Regions from separate parts of the Homo sapiens genome. Here regions 2 and 3 are each linked to region 1. Evidence: promoter capture Hi-C in 16 types of primary human blood cells and fetal thymus (Javierre and others, 2016). All regions are on one chromosome and are shown on one strand. Each heading gives the region's core, a stretch centred on a gene start or on the middle of the fragment in contact. The rest is flanking DNA. Distances are from core to core; before and after follow the strand shown.

Region 1 (4,327 bases), core at 822-3,321:
TATGTATGCAATCATAAGAATCTAAAGGGGGGTCAGCTAAGTGTTTCAGTTATATCTGAGCTGTACTTAATGTGGTAAAATATATGCTGTAGTAGTATTCAGGAATCTGGGGATTCAGCCATTTCAGGACCATCCCTTAAGAGTGCTAAGGGTGGATACTATCTTGTAATTGTTTGACTTTAAATTGTTTACTTCACAGTGCCTGGCTCAGGTAAAGTGCTCAGTAAACATTTGCCATATGGGGGAAAGAGGTTGTTTCAAGAATGGTCAAGGAGATGAAAATTAAAGTAACAGGAGAAATCATTCTTCATCCATTTTACTAAACCAGTACTTAAGAACTAGACCAGATGTTTACTGAAACTTTATTAGTGCAAAGAAAGTAGAAACAAAGCAAATGTCCATCAATTGTTACATTAACTTTGATATATTCTTATCATGGAATAGTATGCAGCAGTTAAAAATGCTTTTAAAAACATAATAGGGGACCCTGAAGGATTTCTACTTTACAATATACTGCATATGTACAAGAGAAAAGCAGAAAGTAAAATGCAATCAAATATGGTACCATTTTTTGTAAAGTACACCTGTGCATGTATGTTTATGCATGATTATAAGAACATGGAAAAAACATAGAAGAATAGATACCAGGAGGGACAGAAAGTTAGCCATCCCCCAATACATACATTAAATGTCAACAATAAAAATACTCTGTATGATATAGTCCCTCTCATAATCATGCGTATGTAGCAAAGATATACTCAAAGAGATGCATGAAAAAATAAAAATTTCTAGCACATTTTCCAGTAAGAAAAAAAAAAAAAACAAATGTCCACATGAATAGATAGAATGGACTGGTTGATCTAGATTAAAATATAAAGGAAAGAACATACAAAAAGATGTTTTTTTTTTTAAATATAGTTTTTAAAGTATGGTATTTGACTTTCCTGCAATAATTGGTACTTGTTATCACTCTCCCTCCTTGAAACATTCACCTGTTTTCCATGACACCACACTGGCTGGTTTCTCTCCTGCTTCTTTGGTCCCTCATTCTCAATCTCTTGAGGCCTCTTATTTCTTATTTGTCCTTCAGGGCCCTGTCCCTCTGCCTACTCCTCAGTACACTCTCCCTAGGTAATTTAATTTGTTTACAAGGCCTCAGTTACCATTTACAAGGTAACAGGGCATTTCGAAATCAGTTCTCCTCCTGAGCTATACACTTGACTATCCGTAGACCTACTGGAAATCCCAGATGCCTAAAAACATAATCCCATACTAAACTCGTTTCTTCCCTCTCAAATCTTTTTCCTGCTCTGAGATCGCATGTCAGTAAACTGGCATCATCAGCCATCCAGCTGTTGACTCCCCACTTCTCCCTGGATTAAACGAAACGTACAAGTTCTGGCCTGCATCTTTCCATAGAGGGGGATTCGGGAAAATTAAGAAGCCAGAAATTGCGCATATTGAAGGCACTTTCAAAAAGTCACTGTCCTCTACACAACGTGACTTTCTCCATTGTCTTCCAGGCACCTGCAGGAATCCAATTCCCATCATTCTTCTCTGGCGCGGCCCTCCTCCTCCCTAGACAGCAGGGCAGGGTAGGACTGGACCCAACACAGACCTAGGCACCGACCCTTACTTAGCTCAGCAGCCAAATGAAGGAGGAGGTCGCTCCACTTCTACCTTCAGGTAAGTTCCCCTCGCTGCACCCCGCAAAAAAACAAGTAACAACCTCTAGAGCGGCTACTGCACGCCAATACCCACCTCCTCCCCCCCAACCTCAGACCTCCACTAAATACCTAAGATCCTAGAGTCCCTGCCTGAAGGCACGCGAGACGCTGGGGGAAGGTGTCCGCGCTGGCTCCACATCCTCGCGCGGCAGAGGTAAGCCGCTTCCAGTCTTCCCAGGCCTTACCTGGGATCTGACATTTGTTTGCAACTCAGGGGCCGCGGTTTTCCAGAGGCCTTGCTTCCGGGCGAGGCTACCCCTACCCCAGAGAAGAAGCCGGTACGAAACTGCTCCGCCGTAGGACACACAGGGCGCCGCCATGTTAGCTGTGGGAGCTCCAGGACCGGAGGGGTGAGGGGGCGGGGCCTAGAGACGGCGCAGGCGCTAATGGCGCGGGGTTCCAGAGGCTGTCCTGTGCAAGAGCTTCTCGGGCCTTTGGATCAGGGGGCGTGTCCCGCGATCCGCGACAGCTCGTCGCTGATTGGGTGCATGGTGTCCGCGGGGCGTATCCGACTCCACCCCTGCTCGGTGTCGACCTCAAGAAGGATCGCTGGTGGGTCGTTTTTCTCGGCCTCTTTCTCTTCACGTCCTGAACTCAGTCTCTTCGGGACTCACTTCCACGCTCTCCTAGTCTCTTTGGCACTCACATCCACGTGGCGCTTTAGCCAGCCCTTCCTTCCCAGCCCCCTTGCTGCACCTCGAGCCGGCTCTTCCTCCACCTGGGCAGGGCGGCCGGGGCCCCAGATGCGCTCCAAGCCTTGATTCCTGTCTGCCTTATCCTAGTAGGGGTTTTCCCCTCCTCTAACTTTCCACGTTCGTCTGGTTCCAAGTCAAGACTCTCCTGCAGCAACTGTCAAGCCCCTCTCGGTTCCCTGGCACTCTCCTGCGTTGTTTCTTAACTGTATAATGCACAGGATAAACCTTAAACCGGTAAGGTCAAACACTACCTTTCTCGTTTTTGCACGCCCCTCCCTAAGCGTTGGTACTAAGCCTTACTTGAAACCCAATCAGAACTGATTAATTGTTGAATAGAGATGAGTATGTCTTGCTTTCTGAAACTTGCGTGCTCCTGGCAGTTAACTCCCAGGTTGCTTTCTACGAAACACATACTAAATGATGTAGTAACGCACTTTAAAAGGGTTTACACACACTTAGATTTGAAGGGTCAGTAAAAGTAAAACACACAGAAAATCTGAGATCATACAAAGTTGTCAAGCAAATAAATGCCGTCTACTATCACCATCATTTCACGAAACAGAACTTTTTAGCATTAAAAAGGTAGAATGGCAGAATTTCACAATAAAGAAAAATCTTTTAAATGGAATACATTTACTTGTATAAAATGCTCATCCTGTTGTTCTTTTTGTTATTAGCTTTTAGACTAGCAAAAGATATCTTGAGAAATTGGCAGAGGTCGGAGGACTAAACTCTGATTTTTTTATCTTGCCCAAGATTCCTATCTACAGGATTTGGGGAGTCATGCCCTACAAATCATAAATTCTTATTAGATGGGTTTTACTTAACCCTATATATGGTGACTTACTTTCCAACCTGACTCTGGCATAACATTACAAGACAAGGAAGAAAATCAAAATATTTTACCCCAAAACATGTTTCTTTGCCATATCTTGAAATGGCCCTGCAAAGCTGTCCTTGGAGGGGTGGGATATGCATCTGTAAAGAATCTGTATTAACATAGCTAGATCTTTTTCTTCCAGACCCTCCCAATCCTAAAGAGATTAACTAAGATCTGAATAGGAAACATTTGTCATCCATTGTCTCTAAGGGCAGCCACTGTAAGACTTACAGAGAACTTTGGTCTCCACAATCTTTATCTTAAACTGAACATTCCCTTTCTATCAGTCCCAGGTCTTTCTGGACCAAACCAATGTATTTCTTAAATGTGTTTGATTGATGTCTCATGCCTCCCTAAAATGTATAAAATCAAGTTGCGCCCTGACCACCTTGGGCACAAATTCTCAGGACCTGCTGAGGACTGTGTCATGGGCCATGATCACTCATATTTGTCTCAGAATAAATCTCTTCAAAATATTTTACAGAGTTCGACTCTTTTTGTCAACGGATGGATAAACTAGCATTTGGGAATCAAGACTTTATTTATTTATTTATTTTATTTATTTTGAGATGGAAGTTCGCTCTTGTCGTCCAGGCTGCAGTGCAGTGATGTGATCTCGGCTCACTGCACCTTCTGCCTCCCGGGTTCAAGCGATTCTCCTGCCTCAGCCTCCCGAGTAGCTGGGATTATAGGTGCCCACCACCATGCCCAGCTAATTTTTGTGTTTTTAGTAGAGACAGGGTTTCGCCGTGTTGGCCAGGCTGGTCTTGAACTCCTGACCTCAGGTGATCTGCCCGCCTTGGTCTCCCAAAGTGCTAGGATTACAGACGTGAGCCACCGCTTGCAGCAGAGAACCAAGACTTTATAGCTCATTAAAATAGATGTCTTTAAACAGCAGTTCCTACACATTGTGAGATTATTTAAAAATTTTTTAAAATCTTAATTGTGGAAATTTAACCAAGTAGAAAACAGTGAGTATGTGGAAGCAGGATTTATACTATTAAAAAATTATTGATATTGGACCA
Region 2 (4,327 bases), core at 1,173-3,672, 200 kb before region 1:
TTGCTTTCACTTTCAAAAAGATAAATATAATTTTAATTTTGTCTCACTGATGTGGCAAGAGTGTGTTCAGTAGCTCAGGTCTGAAGTCACATCGCCTGGGCTGGGGGAAATCCAGCCTGCGCCATTTATCCACCCTGGACATCTGGCTGTTGGATGCACCTCTTCTTGTAAGAAATTTCTCTTTTCTAAATTCCTTGTGGTCATTGTTACAGATAACTCACACTGAGAGGAATGTGGGCAATGTAAGAAGCCAGGAGGCCTCAGAGCAGGCTTAGAGGACCTGGGAGTGGCAGTGTCTTGGTGATGCTATACTTCAGTTTAGACCCAACCAATCCTTGGTCTTCCTTCCCAAACACACCCAGAATGGGTTCATCTCTCAGTGGTGGGCACCAGTATCCAAACTTTTTCTGAGCTATAAAAATCAGAAACCTGGTGTGTTAATTTATAAGTGGGAATTATCTCTCATTCAGACCAAAATTATGACCCTTCTTCATCTCAATTTTCTGATCTGTGAAATGGAGGTAATTACATATTTACCTCCAGAGTTGGTAAATATAATGTGCAATGTCTGGTAAAAGAAGGGCATTAATAAATTAACTCCATCTCCCTCACTGTTTCAAGTTTAGGGGTTTCTGTCTCTTGGATTAAACTGCAAATTTGTTCATGGCAGGAACCATGACATGCATGTAGGAAGCCCTAATGGATTAAGCTCCTCTTGGAGCACAGAATAAAGGACCACTGAGAAAAAACACAGTATCGTGCATCCATGTGCCTGTCAATCTTAGCCGATAGTGAATCCTTCATCTGCATTCCTCTCCATGCTATAAACTTAGATTTTCCCCACAATGATAGTTACAGAGAGTGATTTCATGCTTAATTAAAGGAACAAATAGTGCAAGGTATTTTTTTTAATGTATATGTCTTGTGGTTGAATCTGATTAAAATTCTTTTGGCTTCTGGACAACAACCTGTCTTAGGTATTTTAATTTAGCATTTTGGTCACAGTCCTGTTGTTAATATCTGAATCAACAGTGCTTTTATTACAAGGGACTAGGGCACTAAGATCTAAGTAAAAGGTAACAAGTGAACAAGAAATATTCTGCTGGTGTTCTTGGAGTAACAGCACTCACCGTCTCCAGCGACTTTCACGATGAGAAATGGGTGCCACAATATGAATTTAAAGCTGTGAAAGAAGCGAGCTGGGAACTGAACCGTTTCAAGGTATTTGTTTTAGTTCCTTTCCAAATGATCTCACCCTGGAACTGGGAGGCTGTGCAAGTGTCAGGAGGTAAATCTTCATCTCTGACTGAAGTGTGATTAATCAACTAAGGAAAGTGTGACCAGGCTGTGTGCTGCTGTGTGCCATGGTGTGGCTAGCTGTGCTCTGGCAGAGGCTTCAGTGAGCTGTGTCCACGCAAAAGATAGAAGGCGCTTTCAGCAAAGCGGACACGAGGCCACCCATGCATTGTGTTTACTGCAAGGTTTTCTAAAGCCTTCCCTCTGCATCCTCACGCCTGGCAAGAAGGCAGGGAAATTATGAAAGGGAAGCTCAGATACAGTCACGACAAGCCCCAGTTCAGCAAAGTAGTGACCAGTGGAGCCGAGACTGGAAGCTGAGACTCCAACAGAAAGATGGTTCTGTGGTGAGGACGGTGGCTTGGGGAGGATGACTTCACGTCTGTGACACTGACAAGCATAGGGAAAAGAAAAACCATCCTCCCACCCCCAAGCTACACCAGTTGAGGTACAGACAAATTTCAAACAAAATCCCACTCTGTTCTCCTTTCCCAGTAGATAAAGAATGGGCTTCTAAAAACTGACCTTCAGCGGGGCGCGGTGGCTCACGCCTGTAATCCCAACATGTTGGGAGGCCGAGGCAGGCGGATCACGAGGTCAGGAGATCGAGACCATCCTGGCTAACATGGTGAAACCCCGCCTGTACTAAAAATACAAAAAATTAGCCAGCCGTGGTGGCCGGCGCCTGTAGTCCCAGCTACTCGGGAGGCTGAGGCAGGAGAATGGCGTGAACCTGGGAGGCGGAGCTTGCAGTGAGCCGAGATCGCGCCACCGCACTCCAGCCTGGGCGACGGAGCGAGACTCCGTCTCAAAAAAAAAAAAAAAAAAAAAAAAAAAAAAAAAAAAAGAACTTAGTGAGGATGAGGGAAAGAACCTTTGTCTTTGCTCTCCAAATAGGACAACTCTATGTGCGACCACCAGGGGGCGCGCTGGGGCAGCCTCGGGAGGCTAGGAAGTATCAGTGTCTGGCCTGCCAAAGCCTTTCTTCCTCCCTCCCTCCCTCCCTTCCTGCCTCCCTCCCTCCATTCCTGCCTCCCTCCCTTCCTTCCTTCCTTCCTTCCTTTTTTCCTTCCTTACTTCTCTCTTTTTTCCTTCCTTCTTTTTCTCTCTCATTTCTTTCTTTTATCTTTCTTTGTTCTCTTCCCCTTTTTCTTTTGCCAACTTTAAAAGTCTTTTTATTATGTTAAATTTCAAACATGCAAAAAGAGATAACATAGTATAGCAAAGCACCACTTGGCTACGCTTTTGAGCTGTGTTCCCTCCGTTTCCTTCCATTTAAGCTGGCACTTCCTGGTCCACATACACCTCCCGTCCAGGCTTTTGTTTCCAGTGCAGTAGGGAGATCCTGCCAGGTTTTCTTGGGGAGAGGAGGCCAGGCTGTGAGTGGCCTCGTGAGACAGACATGAGAGGGGAAAATGCGGCCCAGGAGAGCTTTGAGGGACTGGGGGACACAGCGGAGGTCCCTGCAGCGGCGCCAGGGCAGCTCTCCAGGACTCTACCGTCCTCCTAAGGCCTGGTCAAGCGGGGATTCGAGTGGCCTTCTGCTCGCAAACTTGGCGTTTCAGGTAGCAACTCTCATCTTCGGCTGGGAATATGTTTGGCTTTAAGTGGTCAGGAAGGAGAAGGTAAGAAATGCCTGTCTCCCTTTCCCATCCTCAAGATCAGGCGTGAAGACGATCCTGTCTCCCTTTCCCATCCTCAAGATCAGGCGTGAAGACGATCCGCCGGACCCTGATTGAAGCGGGGAGGGATAATGCCTTGCGAGGGGACAAAGGCGGGCAGAACCAGAGAGACCTGCGGAGGCACAGTCGGGGCAGCCCCGTGGCAGGGAGCCGAGCAGCAGCGGCGATTGCCACGTGGAGGAGGTAGACTTCCTGGCAACCGGTCGGTGAGCCCCGCGCGACCTTCAGCAAGAGCGCACGCCTCTCCTTCCTCCCAGCGCTGAAACTGAATGGTCGAAAGGCACTGCGTGGCGACGGCGGAATGGATTATTGTGTCTGAGGTCCCGTCCCGTCCAGAAAGCCTGCAGCATCACTGTTAGGTGTTCAGGAAAATAACGGAATCTTCCCCACCTTCAAATCCCACATGCTATCGTATCCTCCCCAGCAACTCCACTTGCCCCCTGTGACACTGCCCCTGTACCTCCAGCAAAAGCTGCCCTGGGCTCGTCCTTGTTCCCACGTGGCTTCGTCTGTCGGAGCATCCATTCCTATTGGCCCCTTCCCCAGCTCTGCGTCGAAAGGTGTTGCGTGCATCCCGGTGCCTCTGCACCTGGACCCTGTGGGATCGAGGCTGCGCCCAGGTGCGTTCCTGGTGTAAGGCTGCCAACCCCTGATCCGCGAAGGAAGCGCTCATATGCGCAGTGGGAGTAGGCGCAGTTCTTTTGGAACTGTTTTTCACAAACATTAAGAAAAAAGTCAGGTACACACTACACACAGGTACATCTACATTTTAATTATCAGATTTTGAATTATATATATATATATGCATTTACATATATATGTACATCTGATAGAATTTGCTTTCTCTCTGCTGGTTCTATTTCAGCCAAATGGTGGGAAATTTGTTGGGCTCTTTCTCCATAGTCTTTAATATTGCTGCAGGTAAAACCAATTGGTTTTGTGATATTGGATTTTTAATCCCTGCTCCAGAAGAACATATTGGTTCAAAAATGTCAAATCTAAGAAATGAAGTCAATTTTGGCAGACGGGGAAGCTAGGAACAGCCCTTTGCTGTGGGAACAGCTTGACTCTGTCATTACCTGCAACCTTGTCACCTGTCTTTTTGATACAAACTCTCAAACAGATGGTATATTTCAATTTCAATAACTTTATTGGCGATGAAAAAATATGCAAGAGCTGCCAAAAGTAATACATCAAGTAGCTGTGTTTAGAAACAGGTGTCGTGCCACGTGTCTTAACTTCAAAGAAAAGTGAGCTGAAAGGAACCAGATTTTTTATTCCTCGACTTGAACAAGATTCTTGGGGAGAAATTTTCAAGTAGAACACAACTGGGAAGTCTTTTAATGAGG
Region 3 (4,327 bases), core at 944-3,443, 170 kb after region 1:
ATTCAGTTGCATAAAATACAGTAGCGTGATCAGCCTAAATGCATCTCATTTGCACTGTTTGTAACCAGGGGTGGGGGCTTGTGTCACTCATTGCCTCCCCCTCCTCTGCCCAAACCAGACCCGCCAGCTGGAATTTCAGAGCAGGCCCCAAGGCAGCAGCCATTTGGGAAGTGGAAGCCCTAGCCCACCCCAGTCCAGCAGGGGTGCGGGGTGGATAGAGAAGGTGTCTGGAGGTCTGGCCTGAGGGCTTGGACCAACTTTGGCAGACCTGGGCTCTGGGAGGCTTGGCCGGTGGGTGACCACAGCTGGAAGTTGGAGGTCTGCAGCGATGCTTCTGAGCTTCTCCTGAGTTGAGTTCAAGAAAGGGGACACCAAGAAGTAGGGGAACAGTCACTGACTATATTTTACATCCACGCCTACCCCTTTCCCAGAGTTGTGTTCTCACCACCCACTTTGTCGGCGGAGGAGAAACACTGCTGCCTGATGCTTGCACTGCTGCACTGTTCTTGCACCTGCTCCTAGCCCTGAACTCGGGCCCTGAGCTCCTCACTGCCGCCCGCTCTGCGCTGAGCCCCACTCCTGAGACCGCGAGGTGCCAGAGCAGCGCCTCTCCCACCAACTCCTAGACGCCTGTAGGAGCTGCGCCGGAGCCTTCAGAACCCCATGGGGGTGTGGGGGTGAAGTTGGAGGTCATCCGGGTGATTTTTTTCTTACTTTTTCCTAATTGTTCTCCTGCGTTGATTTCAACTCTTCCAGTCTCCCGGTGCTGGGGCGCCAATCCTTTCCCAACAATTCCTACCCACCAGCTGGAGGTCGGGGCCCAGGGTTACCCCAGAGTTCTATGGTGGCAGGGGGCGCCGAGTAGAGGGGCGGGAGGAGCTGGGTCCTCGGGAACCAAAGGGGACCTCAGCGGGGGCGGAGTGCGCAGCCTTGGCTGCTGGGAAATGCCCAACTAGCCGCTGTGAGTGCCCACAGCGCGTCGTGGGGGCGTCCGTTCTGCAGCTCGGGTGACTCAGACGCCCTGCCAACCCCACCAGCTCCCGGCTTCTCGAACGCTCTTCTGATCGCCCAGCGGGGAGACTTCAGGGCCTGCCTCGTCAGGCCAGATTGCAGCCCGCGACCTTCCCGGATTAACCAAGGGCGGGGCCTGTTGCCCAGCAAGGCTGCTGCCTAACTGAGCCTCCCGGGGAACAGCCATGACCAAAGCCCCGCGGGCCCAGGCGCGGGCACCTACCCCTACCCGCTCAGGCCTGTGGGAGCGCAGGGGCAGAGGCCGAGACGCTGGACTTCCAGCCCCACACCTCTGACAACCCGGGCACGTCTGCGGAGCCCGGGGGAACAGTCAGCGGGCTCTGCGTCCCGGGAGCTGGGGACACGCCTGCAAGGTGTGTGATCCTTTAAAGATCCTTAGTACTAGTTTTGTAGGGAGCCTTTGTTATAGCTTTGTCAGCCTGCGCGCCTTCAGCAGCTCCCCCTCCCGGGCCCCTCGGTTCCCTCCGGGCTCGCCCCCAGCGGAGAGGGCCCGGCGCAGGGGATCTGCCCAGGATCAACTGCCCTCTTCCAGATCCCCTTCTGCGAGATTCTTTTCCTTTGGTTACAATCTCCCCTCCGTGCCTGGGGCAGATAAACACGGTTCGCCCCGCCTGCAGTATTGGGGCGATGCTGTCCTGGAAGAACGGGCTTTCTGAATGTGACCTCGGGATGCTGCAGCGGCGCAATGCTGCTACTGCTGAATGAGTAGCTCTCCTGCCACCGCAGGGCGACTGCGGTGGGCACAGCAGGGCGCACAGAGGAGGGGGTAATCTGCCCACCCAGGCTAAGGATTTGAGGGTTCTGACAAAAAAGAGCTGGTTGAGGATGACACAGTTGTGAACTAACCTGGCTCCTACTACCCCACAGGGCAGCCAGGTCCCAGTAGTCTTGGGTACCACTGCCCCCACCATACCACCATTGTAAAGTATGGACTCCTGCTTAGCCAACGTGCAGCTCTAGGCAGGATCTCTGAAGGATGCTCTGGCACACAGATGGTGCAGGTATGACTTTACCTGCACACAAGCTTACATGTGCCCTGTCATATATGGCTACACGTTTCCCCATTTCCCCACAGTCTTCCTATTTAACTGGTCTTCAATCCTCCTTTCTAGGGCTTTCCGCCTGCACACAGTCATTTGGAGAAAATCAAGTGAGTGCACTTCTCCCCACAGAGGATTCTGTATGTTATGTAACACACTCACACTGGGATTCCTCAAGTTACCATTTTGCCCCAACTCAGCCAGCACTTGGTTTTCTGGCGGGGGTGTCAGGATGATGCAAATGGAGGTGGAAGCTTCATTCCCTGGGGGCTTTTATTCCCCTCCTTGAAGCCCCAGTTCAAGGCCCAGGAACAAAGGGGAAAGGTAACTGATCTCTCTTTTGGTCTTTCTCTCCCCTCACTTCCACCCCTTCACCTGCAGGCCCTCCTCTTTGATAAATAGAGGAAAGCCCGTGGGATCAGGTACATATGTAAATACTGCTGACCTCGGCCGCCCCTCCTCACCGAAAAGCAGAAAGCCCGTTTCAGGTGCAGGCTGCTCCGTGCCTTTGAGTGTCCACCACTTCTATTCCCCCAGACTGCTTGGGACTCAAGGCCACTCACTTAATACCCGTCTCTTGTTAAAAACATTCAGGACAACTATTAAATAGTTATTGGAAGAGTTAAAGACCTTCTTTCAGGAGTGAAACGTTTTTAAAGCTGTGCTTGGCATAAGTCTTTAAGGCGTACAAAGTAGAATCAGTAGACTTGCCTGAGCGATTTTGAAATTTGAAAGATTTCTCCCCATGAAATGGTAATTTAAAATAGTTTGTAGATGTTGTTTTGTTCTGTGATGGCTTTTTCACCATTGTCACCTAAAGATTCTCAAGACCAAGCTACTAAGACATTTCATTTGGTTAGTTTCTGGGTGATACTGTGCTTTCTGATTAGACCTATTTAATTTATTTTTAACTCTGCAGGAGAGTTTTCAACCTTGGAAATGTAAGTGAAACACAGACTCACCCTCCTTCTGAGACCTTGATAGGGGCAGAAAGGAACAAATCTGGCTAGCCCCCCTCACACCTGGAAGTTTCCCTGTCTAAACCTGGGTACAATGAGCGTGGTGGGTTTTGTCACCTTTTATTTTATTGCTGGCTCAAGGAAAATTCTTTGAAATGAACATCTATTCTATTTCAGTGTGCAATGTTCCAGCCGACTTAATGGGCTTGCCTTATGCGGAGAGGCAGTCCTGCAGGACAGAGCTAATGTGTGGTCTCCCAGGAAGCTCATCAGAACACCTCTTGTCCCTTTTCTTTAAAAGAAAAAAAATTTAAAAAGTTTTTGCTTCCATCTCAATGTCCATTCCATTATTTTGTAGCTACAATAAAGAAACATGGGCAGCAGTGATCATTCTTTTTGTCCTATGTAATCATGTCTAGTGTTAGGACCTTACAAAGCTCCAGACATACCTCAGGTGTATTCTGCACTTTTCATATTTATTCACTGCTCACTGGGTCACACAGATGATTCACACTTGATTCCACCTTCCTCTGGACAACTCTCCCTCAAACAACACCCCTCTATCAACTTATAGGGAAAGGAGATTCACTTAGAGAAAACTTCTTGAATTAAAGACCAGACTCAGTTTCGCCAGGTAACTAATCCTGGCATACCGGTGACTAGGAAGTCATCACCTAACACTCTACCTAGATATAAACTCTCAGGAAGGAGGCAGGCCGGTGGGGACATTTCCACAGACATTTCTAAAACTGTGGCAATTGAGTATATTTTACAGATACAATTTTGGTAGATTCCCATCCAGCTTAAGACATTTAAAATGCAATTTTGTTCACACGCATGTGCGCGCACACAGACACACACGCACGTGTCAACTAGGGTGATATTAACAGTCCATTTCCACTGGGCAATTCTGTGACAGCAACTACAACTAACAAACTTCTTTTCTGAAGAGTAAAAAAGAAAACAAAAGCCTCTCCATCTATTTTAAAAGGTTATTTTATATTGTTTAGCATTCTTTCGAAACAGGAATTGGCTGGACACTTCTCCCTTTTCAAAGATCAGGTAAACTACTCTCCCACCCACCTCCTCCCCAAGACCAAGCCATTTTTTAAAGCAAAAATTCTGTTTCCAAAGGAAGAAAAATGAACAAATTCCATTAATGAATTACATACATGGAATGTGGCTTGTCTAGGACATTTGTATTTGTAAATAAATGGCTCCCTGTTTATTATGTATGTTTTACTGGAAAAAAAACCAACTCTAATGCCTCTGAGCATGTTATAATACAGCAAATAT

Evidence for each region. Contacts are between HindIII fragments. The CHiCAGO score rates a contact against its expected background, and 5 or more counts as called.
Region 2: a contact is called between a fragment that was not itself captured here and the fragment with the promoter of MRPS9 in region 1, in 2 of 17 cell types (total B cells and naive B cells). The highest score is 6.3, in total B cells.
Region 3: a fragment that was not itself captured here is called in contact with the fragment with the promoter of MRPS9 in region 1 in 2 of 17 cell types (total B cells and naive B cells); the score reaches 6.1 in total B cells.

Annotation. Positions count from the first base shown.
Region 1 is chr2:105,035,813-105,040,139 of GRCh38, reverse strand. It overlaps MRPS9 (mitochondrial ribosomal protein S9), which reads right to left and starts at 2,071. Exons shown (of 11, transcript NM_182640.3): 1 at 1,913-2,071. The coding sequence starts at 2,047. It overlaps MRPS9-AS2 (MRPS9 antisense RNA 2), which reads left to right and starts at 1,644. Exons shown (of 3, transcript NR_110603.1): 1 at 1,644-1,686. RefSeq lists enhancers at 1,089-2,031, 1,785-2,114, 2,285-2,334, 2,385-2,434, 2,455-2,664. The HindIII fragment of the contact is 6,591 bases long and covers 1-4,327 here.
Region 2 is chr2:105,236,019-105,240,345 of GRCh38, reverse strand. No RefSeq gene overlaps it. Among named protein-coding and RNA genes, the nearest start is that of GPR45, 3.6 kb to the left of the region's middle. The HindIII fragment of the contact is 7,123 bases long and covers 1-4,327 here.
Region 3 is chr2:104,864,497-104,868,823 of GRCh38, reverse strand. It overlaps LOC124908045, which reads left to right and starts at 1,623. Exons shown (of 2, transcript XM_047446880.1): 1 at 1,623-2,396; 2 at 3,209-4,327. It overlaps LINC01159 (long intergenic non-protein coding RNA 1159), which reads left to right. Exons shown (of 2, transcript NR_110373.1): 2 at 432-3,327. It also overlaps a transcript of POU3F3 not described here. RefSeq lists a silencer at 979-1,273. The HindIII fragment of the contact is 270 bases long and covers 2,059-2,328 here.